Linked DNA regions of Homo sapiens: region 2 is linked to region 1. The links are contacts of gene promoters, found by promoter capture Hi-C in blood cells and fetal thymus (Javierre and others, 2016). All regions are on one chromosome and are shown on one strand. The core of a region is centred on a gene start or on the middle of the fragment in contact, and the rest is flanking DNA. Distances in the headings are between cores, read along the strand shown.

Region 1 (6,390 bases), core at 1,363-3,862:
TGCGCCAGCCATCGGGTGTTCTGTGAAAGTGGCATAGGGCACGTTGGTAGACCAGGGATTCCATCTGTTTATGAAGGAAGGACGACTTTGCTTGTCCCACTGAATTCGAATCCCAAAACCTTCTCGCCTGAAAAGTCAGAAGAAATAGCCAGACTTAGCATGGCAGGCCACAGTGCTCTCATGGACAATCTGACAGTCTCATCAGTTAGGAGAATATGACAGCAAAAAGCACACGTTTACAGAAAAGACCTATGACATATCACAATGGAAAACGGCTTGTAGTTTTTATTTTTGTTTTTATTTATTTTTATTTTTTGAGATGGAGTTTTGCTCTTGTTGCCCAGGCTTGAGTGTAGTGGCCTGATGTTGGCTCGCTGCATCCTCCACCTCCTGGGTTCAAGCGATTCTCCCAACTCAGCCTCCGGAGTAGCTGGGATTACAGGCATGCACCACCACACCCAGCTAATTTTGTATTTTTAGTAGAGACAGGGTTTATCCATTTTGGTCAGGCTGGTCTCAAACTCCTGACCTCAGGTGATCCGCCCGCCTCAGCCTCCCAAGGTGCTGGGATTACAGGCGTGAGCCACCGTGCCTGGCCGGCCTGTGGTTTTTAGTAGTAACTTCAATCTCCACTAACAATTGCTTTAAATACTGTGGGTATAAATATGACAAATTAGGTATATTTTGGTTATTAAATGTATTATTTTGGTAATCTTTACATGATTAAAAATTAATAAACAGGAATACTGGCTGGGCACGGTGGCTGACATCTATAATCCCAGCGCTTTGGGAGGCCAAAATGGGCGGATCTCTTGAGCCCAGGAGTTTGAGAACAGCCTGGGCAACCTAGCAAAACCCCATCTCTACAAAAAATACAAAAATTAGCTGGGTGTGGTGGCGGGCACCTGTAGTCCTAGCTACTTGGGAGGCTGAGGTGAGAGGATCACTTAAGCCTAGGAGGTGGAGGATGCAGTGAACCAAGACTGCACCACTGGTGCCTGGGTGACAGAGTGGGACTCCGTCTCAAAAAAAAAAAAAAAAGGGAATAATTATAGATAGGCTAGCCAAATGAGTGAAAAGGAAGTGTAATCTTCCTTTTCCTTATGTCATATTAAATGTTTTAACCAAAAGGTAAAATTTTTATTTTAGCTTCCTGAATCCCCCATCCAAATCTCTCCATCAAAAACCCAAGTTCTACAGCTTAACTGACTGTAGTAATGTTTAGGTTCCTCACGTCAGAAAATTATCCTACAGCAAAAAGATCAACTCCTGAAAGCTGGTCATTAAATATTTCCAAATTTGTCTTTTAGTGGTATCTATAAATTACAACGGGACCCTCCATTTCTCTTTAAAAAATTAGCCAGAGCAAGACTTGATGTGTCATATGCAATCTGTCCCTGGCTGGAGAAAAATGCAGAGTTTGGACTTTTCCTGAAGAACATCCAAGTTCCTTTTTAACACGCTGGGCTCTACTTCAATGCATCCTGAACTCATGTAAGTCTTTTTACTACCAGCCTAATAGCTGCCTTCTGTGCCAGAATTCCTTTTAATGCACTCAATTGCCCAGAAGTCGCTTCTTTTTAAGGAACTTCCCATTGATATTTGGAGCTGGAGCCTTTGTGCTTATAATTAATGACAGAGAAGACACACCGCTTGGGGGGCTGATTTAAAAGGGCTGAATTGTAAGGTCCACTCTGGTGCTTAGGTCCAGTGATACTGGACTCTGAACAGGCTTACTTGTTGAGCGATTTAGGGGGAAACTGGAATTCTCCGTAGGAAATGGTGTCTACTGCGTTGAGCGCTATCCGCACCACCTGCTGGCACTGGAGACTGATGAAGTCGTATTTACAGATAAGCAGGGACTGCTCCGTGACCAGCACCAGCCGCTCCTTCTCATTGTTCCAGTGATCCACCCTGTAGGCAGAGGAGGGGCCTCAGTCCACACTGGACGCGGCTGTCTCGACTTAGCCAAGGCCAGCCCGCCTGGAAGGGCAGCAGGGGCGGCACGGGGCGCCTGAGCGTGGCACGAGCACCCCGGGAAGTCCTCGCAAGGTGCTGCGCGGCGGCTCGGGGCGAGTCCCCCCACCAAGGAGAGCGCAGCCCCGGCTTACTCGGTAAGCAGCCACACTCCCTGGATCTCGCCGTCCTCCACGGGCCGCACCACCACGCGGATCTCCTCCACTGCCTGCTCGATGCTGCCGGGCTGGGCGGGTTGCGGGGTGGGGGACGGGGGCAAAGATCACAGGTCACAGCTCGCTCCCTGCGGGACCGCCCGGCGCCCGCCTCCGACCCCACCCGCCCCCATCCCGCCCCGCGCCCTCGGCCCCCGCCCCGGCCCTGGCCCCTGCCTCACCCGGAACACGAAGTACTCCTTGACGCGGGCGCGGCGCGTGGGGTCGTGGATGCTGAGAGGCCAGAGTGTCTGGCGCAGCGGCGTCCCCGCCCCCGGCCGCCCCCCGCCCGGGCCGCCGCCTGCCCCCACCTCCTCGCCGGCCGCCAGCACCGCCGTGGGGCTCGTACCGGCCGAGTCCACCGAGTCCCGCAGTTGCAGCATTGCCGCACCCCTTACCGACCCCGACCCTGACGCCGACGCGACCGCCGTCGCCGCAGCCACCGCCACCACCCGGCCGCGCCCCCGGCCCCGCCCCGCGGACCGCCGCGATTGGCTCCGCCTTGCCGGCCCCGCCTCTGGCTCCGCCCCTTCCCGCGTCCGCCGACCCTCGGGATTGGCTCTCCTCCTGCCGTTTTCCGCGATTGGCTCTGCCCCGCCGCCGTTCACAATCGCTCCCGCCCCTCGCCGGGCCGGAAGCGACCGTCACGCGCAGGCTCACTTCCTGTTTACACAACGAGAAGGGGCGGGGCCGAAGCCGGTTGCCAGGGTGTCGCGGAGCGGCTGGGAAGGAGGGGCTGGGAATCTTGGAGCCCCTTGGCCCGCGGGGAAAGCGGGTGACCCGCCCTGCAAGTGGGATGCCCCCTTCGGCCTTCTGGAGCGCAGGTGGGGGCGCGCGCCCATCGGGGGCTCGCACTGCACGGAGGGTCGCGGTGCCGGGGAGCTGAGGTTGGAGGATGCAGGGCGGCGGCCCTGGTGCACCGTGGGGGAGTTCGCACGCCGGGCAGCGATCTTCTGCCGGGACCTGGCGTTCTTCACACACGGCTTATTCGTGACGGATCCACAGAGCAATGCACTCTGAAGCCGGAGGGTAGAAAGTGCTGGAATGCGCGCCCGGGCCCAGGCTGTCGCGAGCCTTCAGCAAGCCAGTGCACACAGAGAGGGCTGCCCAGAGATCCCGGTCAGCGCTCGCAGTTCGAGGTGGAACATGTGTGTGCCCTGCGCTAGCCCCAGCTCCCGGAGGTGCCCCCAGCGCGTGTGGAGGGGGGCGGTGAACGGACCCGCAATCTGGTGGAGGCTGCGGGAAGGAGGCGCAGAGTCCAGGGGTCAGGGTTACCTTCGGGCAGGAGGACAGATCCCTCTGCTCGGAGGTGAGGAAGACACACGAGGCGAGGTGCACACAGGCGAGGAGAGTGAGATGGGGGGAGAATGAGGAGTTCAGGATACATCTGTTTACTTCAGTCAGGGAGTGGGGATGGAGCGGAGTATTTGTAAAGATGGACGGTTTAGAATCGCCGGGATGAGAACCGGGCAGGGAGCTGATCAGGGAAGGGCATGGGGATCTCTGAGCAGCTGGGAGACCCCAGGGAAGTTTGCAGTGGCGCCTCCCACGCGGCAGCTGGGGGAGTGGAAGAAACCAATGCTGGCTGGTCTAGATGGAGGAGTTTGCTGGGTAGCGGTGGTCAAAGACCAGAGAGAAAAGGGAGGCCAAAATCCTAGAGGGAGTGTTGCCCAAGAATGGTGGAGTGCAGGGATTCTGCCCCACTTGCCAGCAGACAGGCCAGGCTGCCAAAGTTGCATGGGCGCTGGCAGAAAGACCCAATACCCCTGGAGTCAGAGAGGAAAGACTACAACAGGAAACGGGCGACGCTGGTGTGCCCAGACGCATGTTGCACCACAGCGGGTGCACTACAAAACAGGACCCTGGATCCTGTGGACCAATGTGGTCTTTGTCCCACAGGGAGGCTGTCTCCCCGGCAAGGGTGCCCACTGCAAGCACAGGCGTGAGAAATGGCCCAGAAAAGAGTGGTCAGGGCAATGTGTTCTTGGCACGCCCAGCAAGACCTGCCAGAGGGACCTACAGACGAGTGTCTCCCAGCTATCTTACCAGCGGGGACCTTGAGGTCCAAGTATCCAGTCCGGTTAGAAATGGCCGCGGATCCAACAGGTGCTGGTGAGTGGGAGAATACCCCTGAGGGAGGAAGAACAGAGGCCGGGAGGGAGCTGAGTGGATGTAGATGAGAAATACCTGGACAGCTGCAAGCTGTAGTCAGTGATGGGCAACTGGAACCAGAGATTCCAGAGAGAGGGAGGGAGAAAGAGGGAGGAGAAGGGAGAATGAGAAAGAGAGGGAGAGAGAATGGGGGGGAGAAAGAGGGAGAATGGGGGAGAGAGGTAGGAGCAAGTTCTGGACCACGCCAAGGATGGAGCTGTGGTCCTGGAACCAGATGTCCAGGGAATGGGATGAAGTGACACTGGCTGGGGCCGAGGCTGCAGACTGCTGGTGGGAGCTGGCAGGACAATGAGGATTCTGAACCAGGTGCCTGAGCCTTCTGTGGATATGGGGAGTGACTTGGATGTCTATAAATTCCAGAAATGATAGGAGGGATAGATGATGGAGGGACTGTATTTTAGACAATAAACAAATTTCACTCAGTATGGATGAGTTTCCTGGGGCTTCTGTCACAATGCATCACAAACTGGTTTTAAAAACAACAACTGTTTTAAAAACAACAGAAACGTGTTTCCTCATAGCCCTGGAGGCCAGAAGTGCAAAATCAAGGAGTGTGCAGGGCCATGCTCCCTCTGCAGCCCTGAGGGTTGACGCATGTCTTGCTCTGCCAGGCCTGCTTGGTGTCCTGGGCTTGCTCATGCACTGCTCCCATCCCTGCCTCCATCTTCACACGACCTTCTCCAGGTGGGTCTCTTCTGCAACATCCCTGTTGGATTAGGGACCACCCTAGTGACCTCATCTTTAGTCGATCATCATCATGTTTGATCAAATAAGGTCACTGTGTTTGTTTGTTTTCCCACTGCTATTAATATGAAGAACTTACCTGAAGCTGGGTAATTTATAAAGAAAAGAGGTTTCATTGACTCACAGTTACACATGACTGGGGAGACCTTAGGAAACTTACAATCATGGCGGAAGGCAAAGGGGAAGCAAGGCACGTCTTACATGGCGGCGGGGGTAGTGGGATGTGCCACACTTAAACCATCAGATCTTGTGAGAACTATGACAAGAACAGCACGGGGGAAATCGCCCCCATGCTCCAATCACCTCCCACCAGGTCCCTCCCTCGACATGTGGGGATTACAATTCGAGATGAGATTTGGGTGGGGACACAGCTAAACCATATCATTCTACCCCGGCCCCTCCTAAATCTCATGTCCTTTTTACATTTCAAAACCAATCATGCCCTCCCAACAGTCCCCCAAAGTCTTATTTCAGCATTAACTCAAAAGTCCACAGTCCAAAGTCTCATCTGAGACAAAGTCCCTTCTGCCTATGAACCTGTAAAATCAAAAACAAGTTAGTTACTTCCAAGGTATAATGGAGGTACTGGCACTCGGTAAATGGTCCCATTCCAAAAGGGAGAATTTGGCCAAAACAAAGGGGCTAAAAGCCCCATGCAAGTCCAAAATCTAGTGGGTTAGTCATTATATCTTACAGCTCCAAAATAATCTCCTTTGACTGCATGTCTCACATCCAGGGCCACACTGATGCAAGGGGTGGGCTTCCAAGGCCTTGGGAAGCTCTGCCCCTGAGTGCCTACGGCTTTTCCAGGTGCAGGGTGCAAGCTGCTGGTAGATCTACCATTCTGGGGTCTGGAGGACAGTGTCCCCCTTCTCGTAGCTCCACTAGTCAGTGCCTGTGGGCAGCAAGCCACCCCGGTGCTGAGGCAAGAGACCGAGGGCACGAGCTGTTCCGGTGTAATAAGATATATAAAATAACAAGAGTTATACTAGATCTAGATCATAGATATGATTATATGTAAATATCATTAATCATTAATTTGTAGTAATTGCTCTTTATTCCAATATTATAATAATCCTCGCTCTACAATCATAACCTAGAAAAAACCAGGCCGTACAGAGATGGGAGCTGAGGGGACATGGTGAGAAGTGACCAGAAGACAAGTGCGAGCCTTCTGTTATGCCCGGACAGGGCCACCAGAGGGCTCCTTGGTCTAGCGGTAACACCAGCGTCTGGGAAGACGCCTGTTACCAAGCGGACCGTGGTCTAGTGGCAGCGTCAGTGCCAAGGGAAAAGCACCCAC
Region 2 (4,927 bases), core at 1-2,500, 1.4 Mb after region 1:
GGAGGGGGCTCCGGCCCGGGGGCTGCCCGGACGGGAAAGGGGACACGGGCGGGGCTCCCCCACCTGGGCCCCCCACCCTCACGCCAGGCCCCCCTGTGCGGTGCAGGACGAAGGAACCCTGGCCTCAGTTTCCCTACAGGCTGGGATCAGGGCCCCTGGGGTTCCGACTGTCTCGGAGGGGGGCGGCCTCGCTGCAGAGGTCTGGAGGCGGGGCCGGGGCGGGGGCGGGGCCTGGAGGGGCGGGGGCGGGGCTTGCGCTCACTTCCGCCCGGCGCGGGCTTGGATGGAGGCGGCGCGGAGGCCGCGGCTGGGGTTGAGCCGCCGGAGGCCGCGCCCGGCGGGCGGGTGAGGCCGGGAGCCGGGCGGGGGCGCGGCCGGTTTTCCCGCTCCCACGTGCTTCCCGGCGCCCCCGCGGGCCTCCCGCTCTATTCTCCCCCTGGGGAGGGCTCCCTGCCCCCGGGCCCGGCCCCCACGCCCGTCGCCCCACCCCGCGCCGCCATTCAGCGCCCGCCTTGAGCCCCCACCCCACGCCGAGCTTCCCCCGCGCCGCCCCAGGCCCTCCCGCGCCTCTCCCATCATCGCGTCTCCCCTGAGCACCCCCCATCTAACCCTCTACCTTCCCCAGGCCCTCCGCAATCTCCCCAACCATCGCCTCATCCCGCTGAGGACCCCATATTTCCACCCACCCACCCCGCTCCCCCACCCCCAGTACCCCTCATCTCCGCACTGTCTGCCCCAGCAGCCCTTCCCCCAACCCTGCCGGCCACCTCCCGCACCATCGAATTTCCCTCTAGTACCCCCCATCTCCCCGCTCTCTCTGCCCCAGGCCCTCCCGGGTCTCCCCACCATAGCGTTTCCGCTACTGAGTACCCCCTGTCTGCCCTCTCTGTCTGCCCCAGGCCTTCTGGCGGCCGCCCCTGGTTTCTCCTGGGGGGTGATGAGCGGGAGCGGCTCTGGGCCGAGCTACTGCGCACGGTGAGCCCGGAGCTGATCCTGGATCACGAGGTGCCTTCACTGCCCGCCTTCCCAGGACAGGTGTGCCCACTGGGCCCATCTTAGCGATGAAGGGGTTTCCAGGGCGGGAGCCATCGCTGGGCAAGGCCCAACAACTCTGTGTTGCAGGAGCCCAGGTGCGGCCCGGAGCCCACTGAAGTCTTCACTGTCGGACCCAAGACCTTTTCCTGGACACCCTTTCCGCCGGACCTGTGGGGCCCGGGCCGTTCCTACCGGCTGCTTCACGGGGCAGGAGGGCACCTGGAATCCCCCGCCAGGTCCCTGCCCCAGCGCCCGGCACCTGATCCCTGCAGGGCCCCCAGGGTGGAGCAGCAGCCGTCTGTGGAGGGTGCCGCGGCCCTGCGCAGCTGCCCCATGTGCCAGAAGGAGTTCGCCCCCAGGTGAGTAGGCCACCCCTGCGCCCGGCCCGGTTATCCATCCGTGTTTGGAAACCACAGCCGTTCAGAAGGTCAAGAGGTGGCCGAGCTCAGCGCTGGCTTTTAAAGCCCTGTTTCACACTGGAAAGGTGGCCCAGTGCTGTGGCCTGGCATGTCCAGGTGGCTCTCTGTCACGGGTCTGGGGTCCACCTGCTTGCCGTGCTCTGTGGGCAGGGCAGGCTGGGGGCCCACAGAACAGCACAGAAGGAAGGCTGGGAGCACTGGCCCCGGGTCCACCTGGCCATCCTGGAATCTGGTGGCACCAGCGTCCCCAGGCCCAGAGCACAGGAACACCTTCCCGAGAGTGCGTCATGGGTTTTAAAAATGAAGATCGTCTTTTTTGTCTGGAGATGCTTTTTCTTATTTTTGAAACCCAACGTATATTTTTATGTATTTTTTAAGTAAAGGGGAATGGAACCCAGTTTTGCTAACAAGATAACCCAAACTGCCCAGTGCCTGGCCTTGTGTCTGGCGACCTCTGGGCCCTTGGCCTCCGGAGCAGGTCCTGGGGCTGGGGTGGTGTGAATGATGCTGGTTCGTAACTTTTGGTTGAGTTAATGGGCGGCAGGTTTCAGAGCTTATGGAGACCAGGTCCTTCAGTCATGCCTGATGCCCCTGGTCTTCCAGAAGCAAAAACAGCTCGGGAATGCGAAGGCACCGGAGTCCAAAGTTGGCAGCCAACAACAACAACAACAAAAGAAAAGGCCGGGCACGGTGGCTCACGCCTGTAATCCCAGCCCTTTGAGAGGCTGAGGCAGGTGGGTTGCTGGAGCCCAGGAGTTTGAGACCAGCCTGGGCAACATGGCAAGATCCCATCTTTACATGCCTGGGCGTGGTGGCGCGTGCCTGTGGTCCTAGCTACTCTGGAGGCTGAAGTGGGAGGATTCCCTTGAGCCAGGAATTGGAGGCTGTAGTGAAGTATGATTGCACCACTGCACTCCAGCCTGGGTGACAGAGTAAGACCCTGAATCACGGACAGAGGGTACTGTTGGGAGCCCTGGGGAGAAATCCATGCTCTTGGCTGAAGCTCTGAGATCCTTGTTGCTGTCAGGGTGCTGCCCCCCGCCCCCCGGGGAGGGGCTTTTGTCTTTGCATCGCCTGCTTTTCCAGATAGTCTAAAAAAAGACTTCTGAAGACAAGGACGTTCACGAGGAAAAACTTGCCATTTTGAGCTTTTTAAGCAGTTGCTGAAAGCTTGGCAGACTGCCTCAATTTTTCCTAAGTAGGCGTCAATGAAGTCAGGTCCAGGCCTTGGTGTGTCTGGAATGCTTCAAGCACATTCGAACACTTGATCGTAAGGGAGAGCCGGTACTTTGGAACCGGAACTCACCCGAGGCTGTGGCCACCGCATGGGCAGGCTAGCTGGGGGACAAGCCCCATATCTTTGGGAACAAGGGTTTGCACAGCCACCCTGGGATGCCCTGGGACTCCTGACCGCACAGGACCCCAGCAGGGAGGCCGCCTGGATTGGAGGGTCTGGTCTAACAGCCGGACTTGGTCTTGAACCGTCGCCCTGTCCCGCACAGGCGCCTGCTGAGCCTGGAGCCCTGGCAGAGGCGGGTCTGGGGAGTGGAGCTGCCAGGAGGCCTCCCATTTCTCACAGCCTTGGTGTTCTCCGGGTCACCCAGAGGACCGTCAAATGCTGGATTTGACAAACTATGTAGAATGTTCTTTGTGTCTTTAAGATCTTCTTGTGGTCCTATTTGGACATTTTGTGCATTTTCAGACACCTGCGGGTCACGTGGGTGGATGGGAAGCTGGGCACCTGGTGAGGGGTGAGGATGTTGAGAGCCAGAGCTGCGTTTTGTCTCTGTTGATGTGGCGAGGCCCTGGGTTGGTCACTGGGATTTTTTTTTTTTTTTGAGACGGTGTCTCGCTCTGTCGCCCAGGCTGGAGTGCAGTGGCATGATCTCGGCTCACTGCAACATCTGCCTCCCGGGTTCAAGCGATTCTCCTGCCTCAGTCTCCTGAGTAGCTGGGATTACAGGCGTCACCACACCTGGCTAATTTTTGTATTTTTAGTAGAGACAGGGTTTCACCATGTTGGTCAGGCTGGTCTTGAACTGATCTCAGGTGATCCGCCCGTCTCGGCCTCCCAAAGTGCTGGGATTACAGGCGTGAGCCACCGCGCCCGGCCGGTCGTTGGGATTTTAACAGCCCTGAGGCCCCTCACGCTGCCAGGTGCCAGCCCACCCTGCAGCCCTGCTCCCCTGCCCACACGCAGAAGCCACCAGAGGCTTCTGGACTGAGCCCCCACTGTCCTGCAGCCGGGCTGGCCTGTCCACACCACAGGGCGTGCTCAGCTACTGAGCAGAAGCGTCACGGACAGGGCAGATCAGGCCAGGACAAAGCTCTTCCGCCACAGGCGGGGGTCTGAAGGCATCTCAGAGGGCCCCCAAACAAGGGACGCTGCCTGGAAACCCCGGGACAAGATGACCTCGGTTCAGATCTTAGCACCTTCTGGCAACCTTAGAGAAAGCTTCTGGAGGGAGGGGCTGGTTCCCAGGATGGGCAGAAGCCGGAAAGTCTCAGACTGAGTGACCCTCGGGGGCTTCAGAAGGCACTGGGTGGGCTCTGCCAGAGTGAGAAGGCAGCTGATGGCTGCTGGAGCCAGCCCCGGGAGTGGGGGTCCAGCTATGGTCTGGAGAGGGGGACTTGAGGGTTGCAGTGGCCACACAGACGGGGCACAGGAGCCAAAGGAAGGGACACAGCAAAGCCCAAGGGTAAAACGGCGCGCCGTGGACTGGTCTGAGGGCAGAGGCTGTAGGGGAGCGAGGGGCGGTGTGGCTGACAGGTGGACACAGGGACACGTGTCCTGTGGACTTGGCCGCTCAGTGGGGGTGTGTCCCCCAGCAGTGGCGTGTGAGGGATGGTCACTCTGATGGGACACTGACCACTTGGCCTCCAGCAAGATCTAGGCCCAAGTCTAGGCTGAAGCCGCCCACTCAGCCCCGGGACATCGTCCCCGGCAGCTCTGCTGAGCACGCCAGCTCCGGCACTCTCCGGGAGTCATGGCCGGAAGTCAACTGTCCTGGCTTCCAGGGCCACACCTTGGCCAGGCCTGGTGATGGTCATTTCCAGCCGCTCCAGTTGGGCTGATGGGGCCACATGAGGCCGGGGATAGAAGGTGGCTGCGCTCAGACACCCCTCCCGGCCCCACTGGATGCCCAGGGCGCTGACCTGCAGGACTCGGATGGGTTTTCTCCTGCCACCCCTGCCTGGCCGGCCACCATCCCAGCGCCAGCGCCCTCCTGAGAGGTGCAGGGGCCGCGTGGGGCCTCCCAGAGTGGCAGGTTGGCAGCCTGCACGCCGGTGACGGCGTCCTTCTCCGTGGTGAGGCTTGGTCCCTCCTCGCCAGAAACACCAATTCTCTGACGTGAGCTGCACATCCACTGCCCAGCCATGTTTACTCTTCTGCCTCCTGTAGACGCAGCCGCGGCGGCTCTCCCTGGCAGGCCACCCGCCGTCCTGCCTTTTCTCCGGGTCAGGCCGCCTGT

The links. Contacts are between HindIII fragments. The CHiCAGO score rates a contact against its expected background, and 5 or more counts as called.
Region 2: a fragment that was not itself captured here is called in contact with the fragment with the promoter of TPRG1L in region 1 in 1 of 17 cell types (fetal thymus); the score reaches 6.6 in fetal thymus.

The regions. Positions count from the first base shown.
Region 1 is chr1:3,621,237-3,627,626 of GRCh38, reverse strand. It overlaps TPRG1L (tumor protein p63 regulated 1 like), which reads right to left and starts at 2,612. Exons shown (of 5, transcript NM_182752.4): 1 at 2,354-2,612; 2 at 2,112-2,203; 3 at 1,738-1,914; 4 at 1-127. The coding sequence starts at 2,554. It also overlaps a transcript of MEGF6 not described here. RefSeq lists enhancers at 1,576-2,238, 3,219-3,338 and a silencer at 2,539-2,768. The HindIII fragment of the contact is 13,719 bases long and covers 1-6,390 here.
Region 2 is chr1:2,190,106-2,195,032 of GRCh38, reverse strand. It overlaps FAAP20 (FA core complex associated protein 20), which reads left to right and starts at 261. Exons shown (of 4, transcript NM_182533.4): 1 at 261-345; 2 at 900-1,035; 3 at 1,123-1,394. The coding sequence starts at 284. LOC112268219 (a long non-coding RNA gene) reads right to left here. Exons shown (of 1, transcript NR_168005.1): 1 at 2,575-4,927. RefSeq lists silencers at 1-406, 417-506 and an enhancer at 4,891-4,927. The HindIII fragment of the contact is 2,752 bases long and covers 1-2,626 here.